4 separate regions of the Homo sapiens genome follow, and all the other regions are linked to region 4. The links are contacts of gene promoters, found by promoter capture Hi-C in blood cells and fetal thymus (Javierre and others, 2016). All regions are on one chromosome and are shown on one strand. The core of a region is centred on a gene start or on the middle of the fragment in contact, and the rest is flanking DNA. Distances in the headings are between cores, read along the strand shown.

Region 1 (4,138 bases), core at 957-3,456, 400 kb after region 4:
TTGATTATTTTTAGTAAGATAAATTATGGATGATTAGCCATAACAATGAATACTATGGAGACGGTGTATAATACAGCACACGAGCCTTCAAGCCCCATCTAAAACGCTAACTTGTTTTCATTAAACCTTTTACCCAATTATTCCCAAACCAGTGATTTCTCCTTACCCATGGTACTTGGTTTATATTTATTTTGACACTTACTTTTCATTCAGTTTCCTACACGTAAAACTCATGTAAATATTTTATTTCTCCTACTAGATTATATATTCCTGAAGGGCAGTAATTGCTCTTCTTCAAGGAAAGCTATGCAGTGCTGGCATAGTGCCTTATACTTGGTAGGTATTCAAGTATCTGTTGAATTAAGCCAAACAAATATAAATTATGTGTATTCTGAAACACTTAACACGTCTACTAAGCAACACAACAAATATGTACTAGCACCATCACATAAAAAAAGAAATATTCTATAAAATATATTTGAAGTTCACAAGGTATCCTCAAAGATTATCAGCAAAGCCTAAAGCTCAATGATATGTCATATTAAAGAGACAGTTGTTGACATCATGAAAAAATTTTGAAGTTAGGGAATGATCCATCAAATCGTAATAAAACTACTACCTTTTAACTTGACAAGTTTAAGAGAAAAAAGCTATTTCCCAAAAAATAGAAACTTAAGTATAACTTCTCAAAGCAATTAAAGAATGAATGGATTGTAAAAACAAGCCTCATCTTAGTTCTTAAGGTGGTCTATGACATGTTCTAGAGATAAGAGTCTAAAAATCTATACCCATATATAATTTAATTAGAAAAAATGTTTCTCTTTATACTCATATAGTCCCTTCCTCTTTAGGACTTGAAAAGCCAAATGTACTCCACATCAATTTATTACTTTATAATGCTTGAATGCAGACACCAAAAATTACGAATAATCTCATTCCTCAAAGAGAGTTTTGTGTTTGTTTGTTTTTGTTTGTTTTGTTTTTGAGATGGGAGTGTCACTCTTGTTGCCCAGGCTGGAGTACAATGACGTGATCTCGGCTCACTGCAACCTCCACCTCCCGGGTTCAGGCAATTCTCCTGCCTCAGCCTCCCGAGTAGCTGGGACTACAGGTGTGCACCACCACGCCTGGCTAATTTTTGCATTTTGTAGAGACAGGGTTTCACCATGTTGGTCAGGCTGGTCTTGAACTCCTCACCTCAGGTGATCTATCCACCCCTGTCTCCCAAAGTGCTAGGATTAAAGGTGTGAGCCACCATGCCTGGCCAAAAAAGAGCTATTTATTGTATTCAACTACTGTAAAAATTATCAGTAGAGAAATGTTAATGTAAATATAGTAAACTACTGATATTAGAGCAGAATTGATACAATCTATATTTCAAGTGAATGAGAAGAGCCTCCATAGTAAAGATCTTAAGGGAAAAAAAGCTTCTCTCTTTACCTTTAGAGTTACTGAAAACTTCAATATTAAAGTTTCATCCAATAGAGTATAGTAAGAAGCGCTTTCTGAAGGATGGCAATATATTTTCAATCTCCACAGATAAGAGAGAAAAAAGAACAAAAATAAAGGACTCTTTTAGGCTAGTTGCAAAGAGCTATTCAGTATAAATACTGAAAGTTACTATTGAGGAGGGCCATGAAACTACTGAAAACTTTTCCGAATAATGTTTATGTAATGATTAAGAAATTCTGTCTGCAGAAAAAGACTGTACGTTCTAAGGTTCATCTCTTCTACCTTTATGAAGCTGTATACAGGAGAAGTGAATAGAATTGATTAACCATTTGAAATAGATAAGATCACAAAAGCAACCCAGCCTTCCTTAGGAAAAAAACAAAACCAACCTCATAAGCAACTATATAAAAGCTGCTCCTCCCCCAACACCAAGGATTTCTGTTCTTTAGAAAGGTAATGTTACTGTAGGTCAGATTTAAAGAAGGAAATAATTATCAAAAGGTCATCGAAAAGGAGCATATTTAAAAATTCAAGAAATTTCAGAAAATTTTCTTGGGAGACTTCAGAAACAGCTCACACGAAATCTAGCAAAATGGATTCAATAAAAGATGCCCTTCTCGTGACCTATATTTTTACTTTGTTGGGGCAGTGTTAGCCTATAGAAGTTGAATACTTCTAGAAAGAGTAAAGCACAAGCTGACTTTAATAAATATACCAGAATTAATATCACGACTGAGAGTATGACTTTAAAGGGAGTGATATGCTTATTCCAACAATGGATATTATGTTGTTGTAATAGTAAAAAACGAGTTCTGAAAACATTTTGAGAAACGACAATCACTGGGCTAAATCTGCCACCTTCCAAAGTCACCAACTACGCTGAAGACAACAGCAAATGAGTTGTGCTTTAATTTCTTAATAATTAGTCCTAATAAGTAATAAGATCAGGCATCTAACAAGATGATTAAATGATTCCCATACTTTTTTTTTTTTTTTTTTTTTTTGAGACACCATCTCCCTCTACTGCCCAGGCTAGAGTGCACCGGCACATTCATAGCAACCTTCGAACTTCTGGGCTCAGGTGATCCTCCTGCCTCAGCCTCCTGAGTATTTGGGACTATAGTCATGAGCCACCACGCCCAGCTAATTTTTTAAAATTTTTGTAGATATAGGGTCTCACTATGTTGCCAGGGCTGACCTATAACTCTCGCCTTTAAATGTAAACTTGTTCACTTGATACGCTCAAATAAATATAATCTTGCACCCAGGACAAAAAACTTGCATTCATAATTACGTAAGGTTAAGTACTAAATGTTACACAAGCAATCCTCCTAACTCAGTCTCCCGAAATGCTGAAATTACAGGTCTGAAACACCATGCCTAGCCTATTCCTACCCATTTCTGTAGGAACTAAACTAGGTGGGACTTAAATTTGCTTCTTGGCTGGCAGATTGCTTAAAAATTCCCCAGACTTTTTTTTTTTAACCTAAAGGGCAATAATTAAGAAAATCAGTTCTTACTTAACCAAGCTTTTAAAATTATCTCTACCCATGCGGACAACAGAAACATATCCTGCAATGGGACAAATTAATAAACATGACGGGAAAATGGAACTTAGATTTTAAATGTGTACTTTTTAGCAGGACGTGGTGTTTCACACCTGTAATCCCAGCACTTTGGGAGTCCGAGGTGGGCAGATCACCTGAGGTCGGGAGTTCGAGACCAGCCTGACCAACATGGAGAAACCCCATCTCTCCTAAAAATACAAAATGAGCCAGGCATGGTGGCGCATGCCTGTAATCCCAGCTACTCGGGAGGCTGAGGCAGGAGAATCACTTGAACCCAGGAGGTGGAAGTGGCAGTGAGCCAAGATTGCACCATTGCACTCCAGCCTGGGCAACAAGAGCGAAACTCCATCTCAAAAAAAAATAATAATAATAAAATAAATGTGTACTTTTTAATCTATGAATGCAAACTTATTTTATAATAATTTAATTACTTTGTAAATTAAGATCAGGTTGCATCCTAGGCAGCAACTCAACTGACCTTCTATATTAAAAATGCTTTGATGGCCAGGCACGGTGGCTCACGACTGTAATCCCAGCACTTTGGGAGGCCAAGGCAGGCGGATCATGAGGTCAGGAGTTTGAGACCAGCCTGACCAACATGGTGAAACCCTGTCTCTACTAAAAATACAAAAATTAGCTGGGTGTAGTGCCACACGCCTGTAATCCCAGCTACTCAGGAGGCTGAGGCAGAATTGCTTGAACTTGGGAGGCGAAGACTGCAGTGAGCCGAAATTGCGCCACGGCACTCCAGCCTAGACGACAGAGCAAGACTCTGTCTCAAAAAAAAAAAAGCTTTGATGAAACAAAACAGTTAGTCGAATTCTACTAGTTTTATAGAATAAATCAAGGGTGGGGAAACTATGGACCATGGTCAAATCTGGCCTATCGCCTGTTTTTGTACAGCCCGGAAGGTAAGAACGGTTTTTACAGATAAACATTAGCAATCGATTTGATTACAGAAAACACTAACTCTGAACCCCAATTCAGCTAAATGTTATCTCCCCTACCCTCACAAAAATAAAATTCTCATTTCTCATTTGTAGGCCTGTATTACAAAATGTTCTATCTTATATTGTTGTATTTTAATCAACAAAAAATTTACAGATTGACATTTCGGA
Region 2 (3,954 bases), core at 761-3,260, 490 kb after region 4:
CCTCAGCCTCCTGAGTAGCTGGGACTACAGGCACCCGCCACCACGCCTGGCTAATTTTTTGTATTTTCAGTAGAGACGGGGTTTCACTGTTGTAGCCAGGATGGTCTCGATCTCCTGACCGTGTGAGCCACCGTGCCCGGCAAGAATACATTTTTAAAAATAGGTGGAGAATGAGCAGTTTTTGGTTGTAAAGTTAGTTACAGCTATTCTGCTAGGTACATAATTCATCAGCATTTTAATCTAATACTTATAGTTGTGCTAAGAGATATTAAAGCTTGTTTTATAGGTGAGGAAATGTTTAAGGTCAAAGGGTTCAAAAACTTGCTGAAGGTCATATAACTAGTATTTATTTTAAGGTGGATATAACAAATAAGTACCAGAGCCCAGATATTCAAAAGGAAGAAATCCTTACTCAAAGCGAATAGAACCTTCGCTGTTTCTTTATTTAATTCCCACTCATTCCTCAAGACTTTCAAATACTGTTTTCTGTGAAGCTGCCCATGTCCCCCACTTTTTTCTAATAGCACTTTTCTCCATGCTACTACAGCAAAGTGCTTTTATGTTTCACATATGTACTTCACTCTGTTGAGTGGCTTTGATTTTTTTCCTAGAAAAGTTGAGAGCCAAGTTGTGTTCATGTTAAACTCTTCCCTTCAAATACCTGACAGACAGTAGCTGCTTAACAATATGGTTGGAATGAATTTGTTATGTTATAAATCAGGCTTTTGAGACAAGATTGTCTATCTTTGTCAGGAATCCTGCAATATGGCGAACATAAGAGAATATTATGAGAGAGCTTTGAGAGAGTTTGGATCCGCAGATTCTGGTAAGTAAACCCTTAATTTGTGACCAATTAGTATGGTTAGAACAGTGTTTCTTGGCTGAGTACAGTGGCTCATGCCTGTAATCCCAGCACTTTGGGAGGCCAAGGCAGGCGGATCACCTGAGGTCAGGAGTTCGAGACCAGCCTGGCCAATATGGTGAAACCCCGTCTCTACTAAAATAAAAATTAGCTGGACATGGTGGTGCGCACCTGTAATCCCTGCCTGGGAGGCTGAGGCAGGAGAATCGCTTGAGCCTGGGAGACGGAGGTTGCAGTGAGCTGAGATTATACCATTGCACTCCAGCCTGGGCAACAACAGTGAAACTCCGTCTCAAAAACAAACAAACAAACAAACAAAACTGTTTCTTAGTTTTTTGATTTGCATCATAACCCTCTTTTAAAATAAAACTTGTTTCCTTCCTCTGCCTCCTCACTTGCTTTGTGTATACTATCATTTCAGGATCATAAGTTCAGGGGTCCATGGGTCGTCTGTTAAGAACCCTAGATTTCTCAGGAGCCTGAGACCAGCCTGGGCAACATATTTAGATCCCCATCTCTACAAACAATAAAAAAAAAAAAGTAACTGGGTATGGTGGTGCATGCTTGTGGTCCCAGCTACACAGCAGGCTGAGGTGCGAGGATTGTTTGGGCCCCAGGATGTTGAGGCTGCAATGACTGTGATGCCACCATTGTACTCCAGCCTGGGCAATACAATGAGATCCTGTCTCAAAAACAAAAACCAAAAACACCCCCTCTGGATTAGAGAAAGATTTGCATGGTTTTGTTTTCTTAAAAAAAATGTATTTAGAGTTACATGAAAGGGGTAAACGTGAGATGCTAATTGGCGTCTGTTGTTGACTATCTCCACATTGCCCTCATTTGTAGGACTTGTACAACATACTTCTGGGTATAGGTATGTCATGTAAAATCTGTGGACTTTGTGAACTCATAAACATTGATTTGTTTATTTTTATTTTGTTTTGAGACAGAGTCTCACTCTGTCACCCAGGCTGGAGTGCAGTGGCGCAATCTTGCCTCACTGCAATCTCTGCCTCCCAGATTCAAGCGATTCTCGTGCCTCAGCCTCCCAAGTAGCTGGGAGTACAGGCACGCGTGCCACCATGCTCGGCTAATTTTTGTATTTTCAGTCGAGATGGAGTTTCGCCATGCTGGCTAGGCTGGTCTTGAACTCTTGACCTCAGGTGATCCGCCCGCCTTGGCCTCCCAAAGTGCCGGGATTACAGGTGTGAACCACTGTGCCTAGCCAAAAAGTTTAGTATTTTTGAGTTCATTGAATAAAATAGACTTTTATGATTGATGTGAAGGTTTTCTACTGGGAAAAAAAACAAAAAACAAAAAAACAAAACTGATGAGGCACAGTGGCTCACGCCTGTAATCCCAGCACTTTGGAAGGCCAAGGTAGAAGGATTGCTTGAGCCCAGGAGTTCAAGACTAGCCTGGGCAATATAGTGAAACCCTGTTTCTACAAAAAATAAAAAAATTAGCCTAATATGGTGGTGTGCCTGTGTTCCCAGCTGCCCTGGAGGCTGAGGCAGGAGGGTCACTTGAACTCAGGAGGTTGAGACTGTAGTAAGCCATGTTCCCGCTACTACACTCTAGCCGGGGCAACACAGTGAGACCCTGTCTCAAAAAAGAAAAAAACACACAAAAACAAACCAAAACCTGCCACTATACTTTAAAGAAGCTAAGAGAGGTATTGTTAAACAAAGCGTCCTAGGGAAGTAACAATGAGAAGTTAAGTTTCTTAGAAATCTTGAGTTGAATTGATATTTAATAAGGTTACCTAATAACACTCTGTCAGTTATCTAATTGTATGTTTTTTTTTTAAAAGATCTTTGGATGGATTATATGAAAGAAGAATTGAACCACCCCCTTGGTAGACCTGAGAACTGTGGACAGATCTACTGGCGAGCGATGAAAATGTTGCAGGGAGAGTCAGCAGAGGCATTTGTAGCTAAACATGCTATGCATCAGACTGGCCATTTATGAAGATGAAGAATACAGTCAGCTTTGTGAAATAGTATTGCAAGCAAGCCCCGTGGGCAAATTTGTATTGAGTCCATCTGTAATTTGCTCAGTGATGGCAGACAAGATGGCTGTCTGGTTTTGAGACACACTTTAATTTTATGTTAACTTGTTAAATCTTTTTAAAAATTAAAAAATTTTTATGATTGAGACTGGGTCTTGCTCTGTTGCCCTGGCTGGTCTTGAACTCCTGGACTCAAGTGACCTTCTCACCTCAGACTCCTGAGTAGCTGGGATTATAGGTGCATGACACTGCTCAGTTTGATGTGCTAATCTGATTCCAGTAAAGAGAATTGCTGATTTAATGTTGAGGCCCGATCTTCCACAGGTCCTAAATGTTTCCCAAAATACATGGATAGCATACGACTGGGTTTTTTTAAAATTATCCCAGGTCAAGCATGAGTATCTCTAATCTCGACCTAAGAGCCAGTTAAAATGAAGGAGAAAGTGGCCAGGCATGGTGACTCAACGCCTGTAATCCCAGCACTTTGGGAAGGCTGAGGCAGGCGGATCACCTGAGGTCAGGAGTTTGAGACTAGCCTGGCCAACATGGTGAAACCCCGTCTCTACTAAAAATACAAAAATTAGCCAGGTGTGGTGGTGGGTGCCTGTAATCCCAGCTGCTTGGGAGGCTGAGGCAGGAGAATTGCTTGAACCTGGGAGACGGAGGTTGCAGTGAGCCGAGATCATGCCATTGCTACTCCATCCTGGGTAAGAAGAGCGAAACTCCTTCTCAAGGAAAAAAAAAAAGGAGAAAGTACAGTTTTGTTGGTTTATTCTCATTATAAAAGATACGTGGTATGCATTTGTTCTGGAAAATATGGAGGAAATAGAATAGTGTGGTAAAAAAAAGCATCCTGTCACTGGGAGAAGCTTTCAGTGTAGCTTATTGTTACGTTTCACTTAGTATTGTTTTTCTGTGTCATTAAATAGCCTTAAAAACATTTAATGAATTCGTAACATTACATTGTAAAAATGAGCCATAATATATTTTACTAATCCTCTGGTTAGACTGTCTTTTTTTTTTTGAGATGGAGCCTTGCTCTGTCATCCAGGCTGGAGTGCAGTGGCTCCATCTCGGCTCA
Region 3 (3,788 bases), core at 504-3,003, 380 kb after region 4:
AAAAAGCTTAATATGACTACTTTCCAAAAATTTCAGTGATGGATAAACTATGTGTTCTACACAGGTCCCTGAGAACAAAGGGCTAATGAATGTATAAAATTCAAATTATAAGTTTCTGAAGAATTAAAGTCTAGACACGTCAGAAGTACCACAGAAAACAAAATACGATGACTAGAAATAAGGACTCTAAGCAGACCATTACAAATAATTTAAGGAAAACAAAAACCGTAATGCTACCCAGGTTACTTCTATATAAAAAATAGACCAGATCTAAGGTAAAAACTAGAAGTTACATTAGCTGCTAATACAAATACGAGATTTCAAATTTCTTACATAAAAACCCTAACTAGGGCCAGTCTCAGTGGCTCACACCTGTAATCCCCGCACTTTGGGAGACTGAGGTGAGAGGATCACTTGAGACCAGGAGTTTGAGACCAGCCTGGGAAATGTAGTGAGATTCCATCTTAACAAAAAAAATTTTTTTTAATTAGCCAGGCATGGTGGGAACGCCTGTAGTTCCAGCTACTCAGGAGGCTGAGGCAGGAGGATCACTTGAGCCCAGGAGTTGATCACACCACTGCACTCCAGCCTGGGTGACACGAGCAAGACCCTGTCTAAACAAACAAACAACCCCCAAAGAGTCATTAAAAAATGGTTATATTAGAGCATTTTGACAATTGGCCAATTGGCAAGGTTGTCTTTTTGTCTTTTTTAGACAGTGTCTCACTCTGTCACTCAGGCTGGAGTACAGTGGTGTGATCTTGGCTCACTGCAGCCTCAACCTCCAAGACTCAAGCAATCCTCCCACCTCAGCCTCCTGAGTAGCTGAGACTACAGAATAGCTGGGACTACAGGCATGTGCCACTGTGCCCAGTTAATCTTTTTTTACTTCTTACAGACAGGTTCTCCCTATGTTGCCCAGGCAAGCCTCAAGCTATTCTTCCATCTCAGCCTCCCAAGGTGTTGACGTTATAGCTGTGAGCCACCACGCCCAGTCTAATATTTGGGATTTTTTGGAGACAAGGTCTCACTCTGTTGCCCAGCCTGGAGTAGAGTTGTGCAATCATAGCTCACTGTAACCTTGAATTCCTGAGCTTACGCCATCCTGCCATCTTGGACTTCCAAGTACCTAGAACTACAGGACATACCACCATACCTGGCTAATTTTTGTAGAGATGGGGTCTGTGTTGCCCAGGCTGGTCTTGAAGTCCTGGCCTCAAGTCATCTTCCCACCTCAGCCTCCCAAAATGCTGAGATTACAGACATGAGCCACCAGGCCAGGACTCATTTTCTTTTTCTTTTTTTTTAGACAGAGTCTCGCTCTGTCACCAGGCTGGAGTGCCACTGGTGACACTACAGGTGTGCACCACGACACCCAGCTAGTTTTTTTGTATTTTAGTAGAGACGGGGTTTCACCATGTTAGCCAGGATAGTCTCGATCTCCTGACCTTGTGATCCACCCGCCTCAGCCTCCCAAAGTGCTGGGATTACAGGCGTGAGCCACCGTGCCCGGCCCACCAGGACTCATTTTCAATCTTTGTTTCTTACTAAACGATACCAAGACAACCAACCTGGCATGTTTCTAATAATGGTTTTATTCCATTGCATAATAAAAAGATATGCCATATACACAGACTTATGATGGATAAGCTGATAAGTGATTTTCCCTTTTTTTTTTTTTTTGAGATGGAGTCTCGCTCTGTCGCCCAGGCTGGAGTGCAGTAACGCAATCTCAGCTCATTGCAACCTCCGACTCTCAGGTTCAAGTGATTCTTCTGCCTAAGTCTCCCAAGTAACTGGGACTACAGGCACCCACCACCACGCCTGGCTAATGTTTATATTTTTAGTAGAGATGGGGTTTCATCATATTGGCCAGCTGAACTCCTGAACTCCTGAACATCCTGAACTCCTGACCTCATGATACACCCGCCTCAGCCTCCCAAAATGTTGGGATTACAGGCGTGAGCCACTGCGCCTGGCCGTATTTTTCCATTTTTAAAACAACTCTAATTCTTTCCAGCATGCTTTGAGCTTTTACTGGAGTAATATACCATATAATTTCCTTTGAATAATATCTAAAATATTAATATATGCCATTGGTAATAGTGGTTATTTCAGTTGTTTTACTGTGTTTTTTTAAAACATGATACAGTATCATTAATTCAAAATGTTTATGCATAAAAGGTTCTACTGAGGAGATTCTTTACCTATTGAAGTTCTAAGACAATTTGTTAAAATCTTCATCATTAGCCAGGCGTGGTGGCTCACGCCCCCTTGGGAGGCCAAGGCGGGTGGATCACGAGGTCAGGAGTTCAAGACCAGCCTGGCCAGCATGGTGAGACCCTGTCTCTACTAAAAATACAAAAAATTAGCCAGGCATGGGGCACGTGCCTGTAATCCCAGCTACTCAGGAGGCTGAGGCAGGAGAATCGCTTGAACCCGGGAGGTGGAGGCTGCAGTCAGCCAAGATCATAACATTGCACTCCAGCCTTCACTCTGCACCCCCATCCACCAAAAACAAATTTCATCATTAGCCTTCATACCTTAAAGTTCAAAAACATCAGAACCAACATATTTTCCATTAAACTTAATTTTATAAATTTACACTCAGAAGCCCCACTTTTTTTACATTCACAAAGGTATCTTGCTATTAAAATGCCACTTTATTTACTTTTAAATACATACCATTTTTGTGGAAGAAACCAGTAAACGTAAGCTGCAAATGAGCTGACAAGCTAAAAAAAAAAAAAAGGAAATATTTTATCATTGTAATGCTCTGTAGTAAAATAACCTAGACTTTAAAATATAACATTGAAATCAAAGTTACTTCAACCAATTTATAAATATTTGTACTCAACTGTTATTCAGGCCCATGACTCTATGCTTTCCCTGTTAAATATGACATCCAAAAGTGTGTCTATACACCTAACAAAAAATAAACAACAAAAAACCCCTCACAACTCACAAAAAGTAAGAACAAAACCACAAAAACACCAGACCAAGGCAGAAAAAAATCAGACTACCAAGTTGGAGGCCAGGTAATTTACTGTGTTTTAGTGTTCTACCTATAAAATGACAGCAGGTATGCCTTCCTATCTTTAAAAAGGAATTTTGGAGGGTTTTTGGAATTCTTTTTTTGTTTTGTTTTAATGACGCTTTAGTCAATGACTTCATCAAAAGGAAATTTTGAAAAGCGTAGCTAAATCCATGCAAAAAAATTTGAATATTTTGAAGCTATGGAAATTCAACCTTCCCAATAAATGATACAGAACCATTACTTTATACTTCAAATAGCAATGAAATACACAATTACAAATCTGGTATAGATCTATAATTTACTGTTTCAATATATCATTTTCACTGTTAGTTTTAGAAGCTATGGAAAAGCAAAAGCAAGCATGAACTAGAACTAGTGCTCCTTCTATTTTCACAAACATCTATTAACAATAGAAAAAAACAATAAGCATGGGATAAAATAAACAGAAGCATCAATAAGCTTTTGAAGTACCTTTAAACTGCAAAACACAATACAGTTGTTGATCAGGAGACATTCATAACTCTCCTGAGCATAGTTTCCATAGTGTGACATGTACAGACACCAGATTATGGAGGGCTATACAGAACAGATGGTGGGGAAAGGAAAGCAGTACTGATCCCTTACATAAGGCATTTACTAATGAAATAGTTGCTGGGCACTAAGGACTAGTAAAGGGCATATATATATATTTTTTTTTTAAATGATGGTGACAATCTAGGCATTTTTATAGTCAGATGGGAACAGTTACAGA
Region 4 (4,021 bases), core at 231-2,730:
ACTACACTTGCCATGTTATTTCAGTATTTTCAATTTCCTAGAAGGCCAGCTCTCTTCACCACCCCAAAAAACACATCTCAATAATCAGCAATATACTTTGTCAAATTCCTGTGTTTAACAGAGATGTCGGTGAAACTTTTGTTATAAATATTTCAACATTTACAAATGCACACTGAGGACAGGAAAGAGTTCAGTTAAGAAATCCCTAAGGTTCTGTCAAGACAATTACTTCACTAGATATGAAGACGATAGCAATAACTGGATTAGGAATTTAGCAATATTTAGAATCTAAGAGTAACTATATGGTGAACAATAATCACATAATTTCGAATGAACAATCCATAAAGTTGTTTCCAATTCCGTATGAATTTATGTTGCCAAGCAATGTATTTAAATTCACAGATCAATAAAATCAATAAAGCAGAATTCTTACATCAATAAAACAGAATTCTTACCTCACTACTCAGATTTTCCTAAAATCACATTACAAAATTCGTAACCGTATTTAAGCTATTTTTAAAACTGTTACATAAACGCAGTACTGTAACAAGCCGCCTTTACGTACAAAACAGTAAATAAAATCAATTTTAATGTAAAGAATATTAACGCTTCCAGAAAAAGCATTAATACCACACTGTAGTAAGAGTTTTCCTAATAAGATAGGCACTTTTTAGTCCTACAAAGTTGGGTAACAGAAACTCCGCCCTGTGAGAACGCTTCCTGAAGATTAAGGCGCCTCTGGGTGAGACACGGAAGCTAGTTCTCCTCCCGCCCCGAAAAGAAAAAAAAAAAAAAAAAGGTTCGAAACCAGGGTTGACTAACTTGGTTCTTTACTAAACCGCCAATTCGAAAAAATAAACACAAAACACACATAAAGTAAATAAAAACAGAAAAAGTGGGTGACAGACTGTGAAGCTGTCCCCAACCCTCCATGAAAGTAATAAGCCTATCGCACTCGAAGAAAAGTCCCTTGTTGAATCGTCACCAAAACAACGGAAGGTGGCTGAATAGTCCCTAGGGGACACTGTCCCTGGCGGAGGGGTCCAGGCCGCCTCCCGGAGTCCAAAATTCGCACCGAACAAGATCCTCCTGAGTCACAGAGTCACACGACCCACAACTGCAAAAGCCTGTCGACCTCGGAACCCCATTTTCCTAGAAGCCTTCCCAAGTCCAATCCCAGCCACCAGGCCACCCACGCAGACGCCTAAATACAAACGCTCCACGCCGTAAGCCAAATCCAGGCCTCCTAGTCCCAGGCCCCAACAACCGGCACCCCAACGCGACCTCGACTTCAAACCGACAAAGGATACCAGCACCACGGCTTCAGCTGCTTCTTCTTCTTGCGACCCATAACTGTGTTCTACCGGCAAAGTAAAAGGGAGGAGAAAAGAAGCAGGAGAAACGAGGCCAAAAATCCCTCACTTTCCCAACCCAACGGCTACCACCACGTCCCACAGGAAGCAGACACAAAATGGCCGACGGCCTCGTTCCCCGCTCCGCCTCCCGTCAAGCACTGCGGTAGGAGGCGGAGCCAAGAAGGGGAGGGTCACATGACGCAGACCTCCGCCCTGAGTGGGTGGGACTAAGAGGCGCGAAGAGGTGGCAGCCATCTTGTCCGTTTCAGAGTTTTTCGCTTTCGCTGGCTGTGCTTGCGGAGCACTTTGGGTTTCATTTGTAAAGGAGCCGGAGCCCCAGGTACGCTAAGGGGCATGCGAATGGAAAACAGAAAACAAAAAAACGGAAAAGATTGCCAGTGCAGTTAGGGCCGATCACAAATAAAGATAGAGACAGCGCCCAATTTTAATTTTGTTTCAATTGAACAGTAAATGTTGATTATGTGCCTATTAAATGCTAAACCAAATAAGTTAGTCTCTGCTTTGTAACTCGCAGATTGGTGACAGACGAGTACACAATGCAGAGTTCTCAGTGCGGCGTTGAGGGAAATGCGAAGTGCTGTAGGACCTCAGAGAGCGGGAGTCCTAGGGCGGCTGTAGTGGTAGTGGTCGTTGGGTTGTCAAGTAAAGTTTTGTTTTTCTTTGTTTTGTTTTATTTTTCTGAGACCAAGTCTCGCTCTGTCTCCCAGGCTGGAGTGCAGCGGCGCGATCTCTGCTCACTGCAACCTCCGTCTCCCGGGTTCAAGCGATTCTCCTACCTCAGCCTCCCGAGTAGCTGGGACTGCAGGCCCGCGCCACCAAGCCCGGCTAATTTTTGTATTTTTAGTAGAATGGGGTTTCACCATGTTAGCGAGGCTGGTCTCGAACTCCTGGGCTCAAGTGATCCGCCCGCCTCGGCCTCCCAAAGTGCTGGATTGCAGGCTTGAGCCGCTGCGCCCGACATAAGAAAGGTTTCTTGAGGAGTCAACGGGAGCAAGCAAGGTGAAGGAAAGGGTATCTCCGTAAGGGAGCAAAGAGTTTAAGTCTTTGAGGCTGGGCACGTGAAAAACTAATCGTGGTAAGACTGGAGCTGATAGCCGGGCGCGGTTGCTCACGCCAGTAATCCCAACACTATGGGCCAAGGCCGAGGCAGGCGGATCACTTGAGGTCAGGAGTTCGAGACCAGCCTGGCCGACATGGTGAAACCCTGTCTCTACTAAAAATACAAAAATTAGCCAGGCGTAGTGGCAGGCGCCTGTAACCTCAGCTACTCGGGAGAATGAGGCAGGAGAATCACTTGGACCTGGGAGGTGAAGGTTGCAGTGAGCCGAGATCTCGCCATTGCATTCCAGCCTGGGTGACAGAGTGAGACTCCGTCTCAAAAAAAAAAAAAAAAGACTGGAGCTGTCAGTGAAGGTGCTGGTCACAAGAGATAATCCTAGGGAGGCTAGCAAAGGCGGGTTCTGGCGAACCCTAGAAGCATTCTCAGAAGTTGGATTTCAGCTGAAGTCTCTGAGAAGGCACAGTGGTTCTAAGAGGGCAACTGGAGGATCATGCAAGTGAGAGGTGGTTAAAAGTCCAGTGCTTGGGTTCATAGTCCACCAGTGCCACTGCTTAGCTGCCTGACTTTGGGCAAGGCAGTTAAACTTCATCTTGGCTGCACTTAAAACAGAGCTTAGCATATAATAATAACTAGTAATGTAAATTATGTTACTATTAAAAGCAAAAAATAATAGCAGACATCCATGGAGCACCTACCGTGTGCCAAGCATTGTAGTGAGTTTTAACATTATTTGTCTCAGCCTCTGGGGTAGGAGCCATTATTGTCAACTTGTTAATAGAGATGAGATAAAAGAGACTTAAGAGAGCTGGAATAATTTGCCCCAAAACACAAAGTATGTGTGGAGCTGAATTAAATTTGAATTTTAAAGGATCAGTTTGGGCTGTGCGCAGTGGCTCACACCTGTAATCCCAGCACTGTGGGAGGCTGAGGCGGGTGGATCACCTGAGATCAGGAGTTGAAGACCAGCCTGGCCAACATGGTGAAACCCGGTCTTTACTAAAAATACCAAAAAAAAATTAGCCAGGCGTGGTGGGGCACGCCTGTAATCCCAGCTACTCCGGAGGCTGAGGCAGGAGAATCGCTTGAACCCGGGAGGCGGAGGCTGCAGTGAGCCGAGATCACTCTGCTGCACTCCAGTCCGGGCGACAGAGCAAGACTCTGTCTCAAAAAGAAAAAAAAAAAAAAAGTTCAGGCTGGGTGCAGTTGCTCAAGCCTGTAATTGCCGTGCTTTGGGAGACTGAGGCAAGAGGGTGGCTTGAGGCCAGGAGTGTGAGACCAACCTGGGCACCATAGTGAGACCATCTCTATGAAAAAATAAATTGAAAAATGAAAAAGTTTAAAACCGTATTGCAATGTGCTGAATATCCCCCCAACTGCTTGAAACGTAATCACCAATGTGATAGCATTAAGAGTTGGGACCTTTAGCAGGTGATTAAATCATGAGTAAACTGGGTGGGGGGGGATTAGTGATTTTATTAAAGTGCTGGAAGGAACTAAACTCTACTCTCTCTTGCCTCAACCAAATGAGGATGCAGCAAGAATGCCCTCATCAGACACTGAGTATTAGTGCCTTGATCTTGGATTT

The links. The method cuts DNA at HindIII sites, captures the fragments that hold promoters and counts their contacts. A CHiCAGO score of 5 or more calls a contact.
Region 1: a contact is called between a fragment that was not itself captured here and the fragment with the promoter of ZNF207 in region 4, in 2 of 17 cell types (erythroblasts and fetal thymus). The highest score is 12.8, in erythroblasts.
Region 2: a contact is called between a fragment that was not itself captured here and the fragment with the promoter of ZNF207 in region 4, in 2 of 17 cell types (activated CD4 T cells and total CD4 T cells). The highest score is 5.1, in activated CD4 T cells.
Region 3: a fragment that was not itself captured here is called in contact with the fragment with the promoter of ZNF207 in region 4 in 1 of 17 cell types (erythroblasts); the score reaches 5.9 in erythroblasts.

The regions. Positions count from the first base shown.
Region 1 is chr17:31,943,380-31,947,517 of GRCh38, reverse strand. All of the region lies in intron 3 of SUZ12 (SUZ12 polycomb repressive complex 2 subunit), which reads right to left. Among named protein-coding and RNA genes, the nearest start is that of SUZ12, 8.4 kb to the right of the region's middle. The HindIII fragment of the contact is 1,554 bases long and covers 1,430-2,983 here.
Region 2 is chr17:31,862,238-31,866,191 of GRCh38, reverse strand. UTP6 (UTP6 small subunit processome component) reads left to right here. Exons shown (of 19, transcript NM_018428.3): 18 at 754-826; 19 at 2,676-3,954. The coding sequence ends at 2,833. Among named protein-coding and RNA genes, the nearest start is that of COPRS, 5.0 kb to the right of the region's middle. The HindIII fragment of the contact is 3,468 bases long and covers 277-3,744 here.
Region 3 is chr17:31,965,094-31,968,881 of GRCh38, reverse strand. It overlaps SUZ12 (SUZ12 polycomb repressive complex 2 subunit), which reads right to left. Exons shown (of 16, transcript NM_015355.4): 5 at 2,686-2,735. Among named protein-coding and RNA genes, the nearest start is that of SUZ12, 30 kb to the right of the region's middle. The HindIII fragment of the contact is 3,490 bases long and covers 9-3,498 here.
Region 4 is chr17:32,347,616-32,351,636 of GRCh38, reverse strand. It overlaps ZNF207 (zinc finger protein 207), which reads right to left and starts at 1,480. Exons shown (of 12, transcript NM_001098507.2): 1 at 1,311-1,480. The coding sequence starts at 1,351. MIR632 (microRNA 632) reads right to left here and starts at 1,528; the gene lies at 1,435-1,528. It also overlaps a transcript of C17orf75 not described here. RefSeq lists enhancers at 1,391-1,740, 1,911-2,030. The HindIII fragment of the contact is 13,651 bases long and covers 1-4,021 here.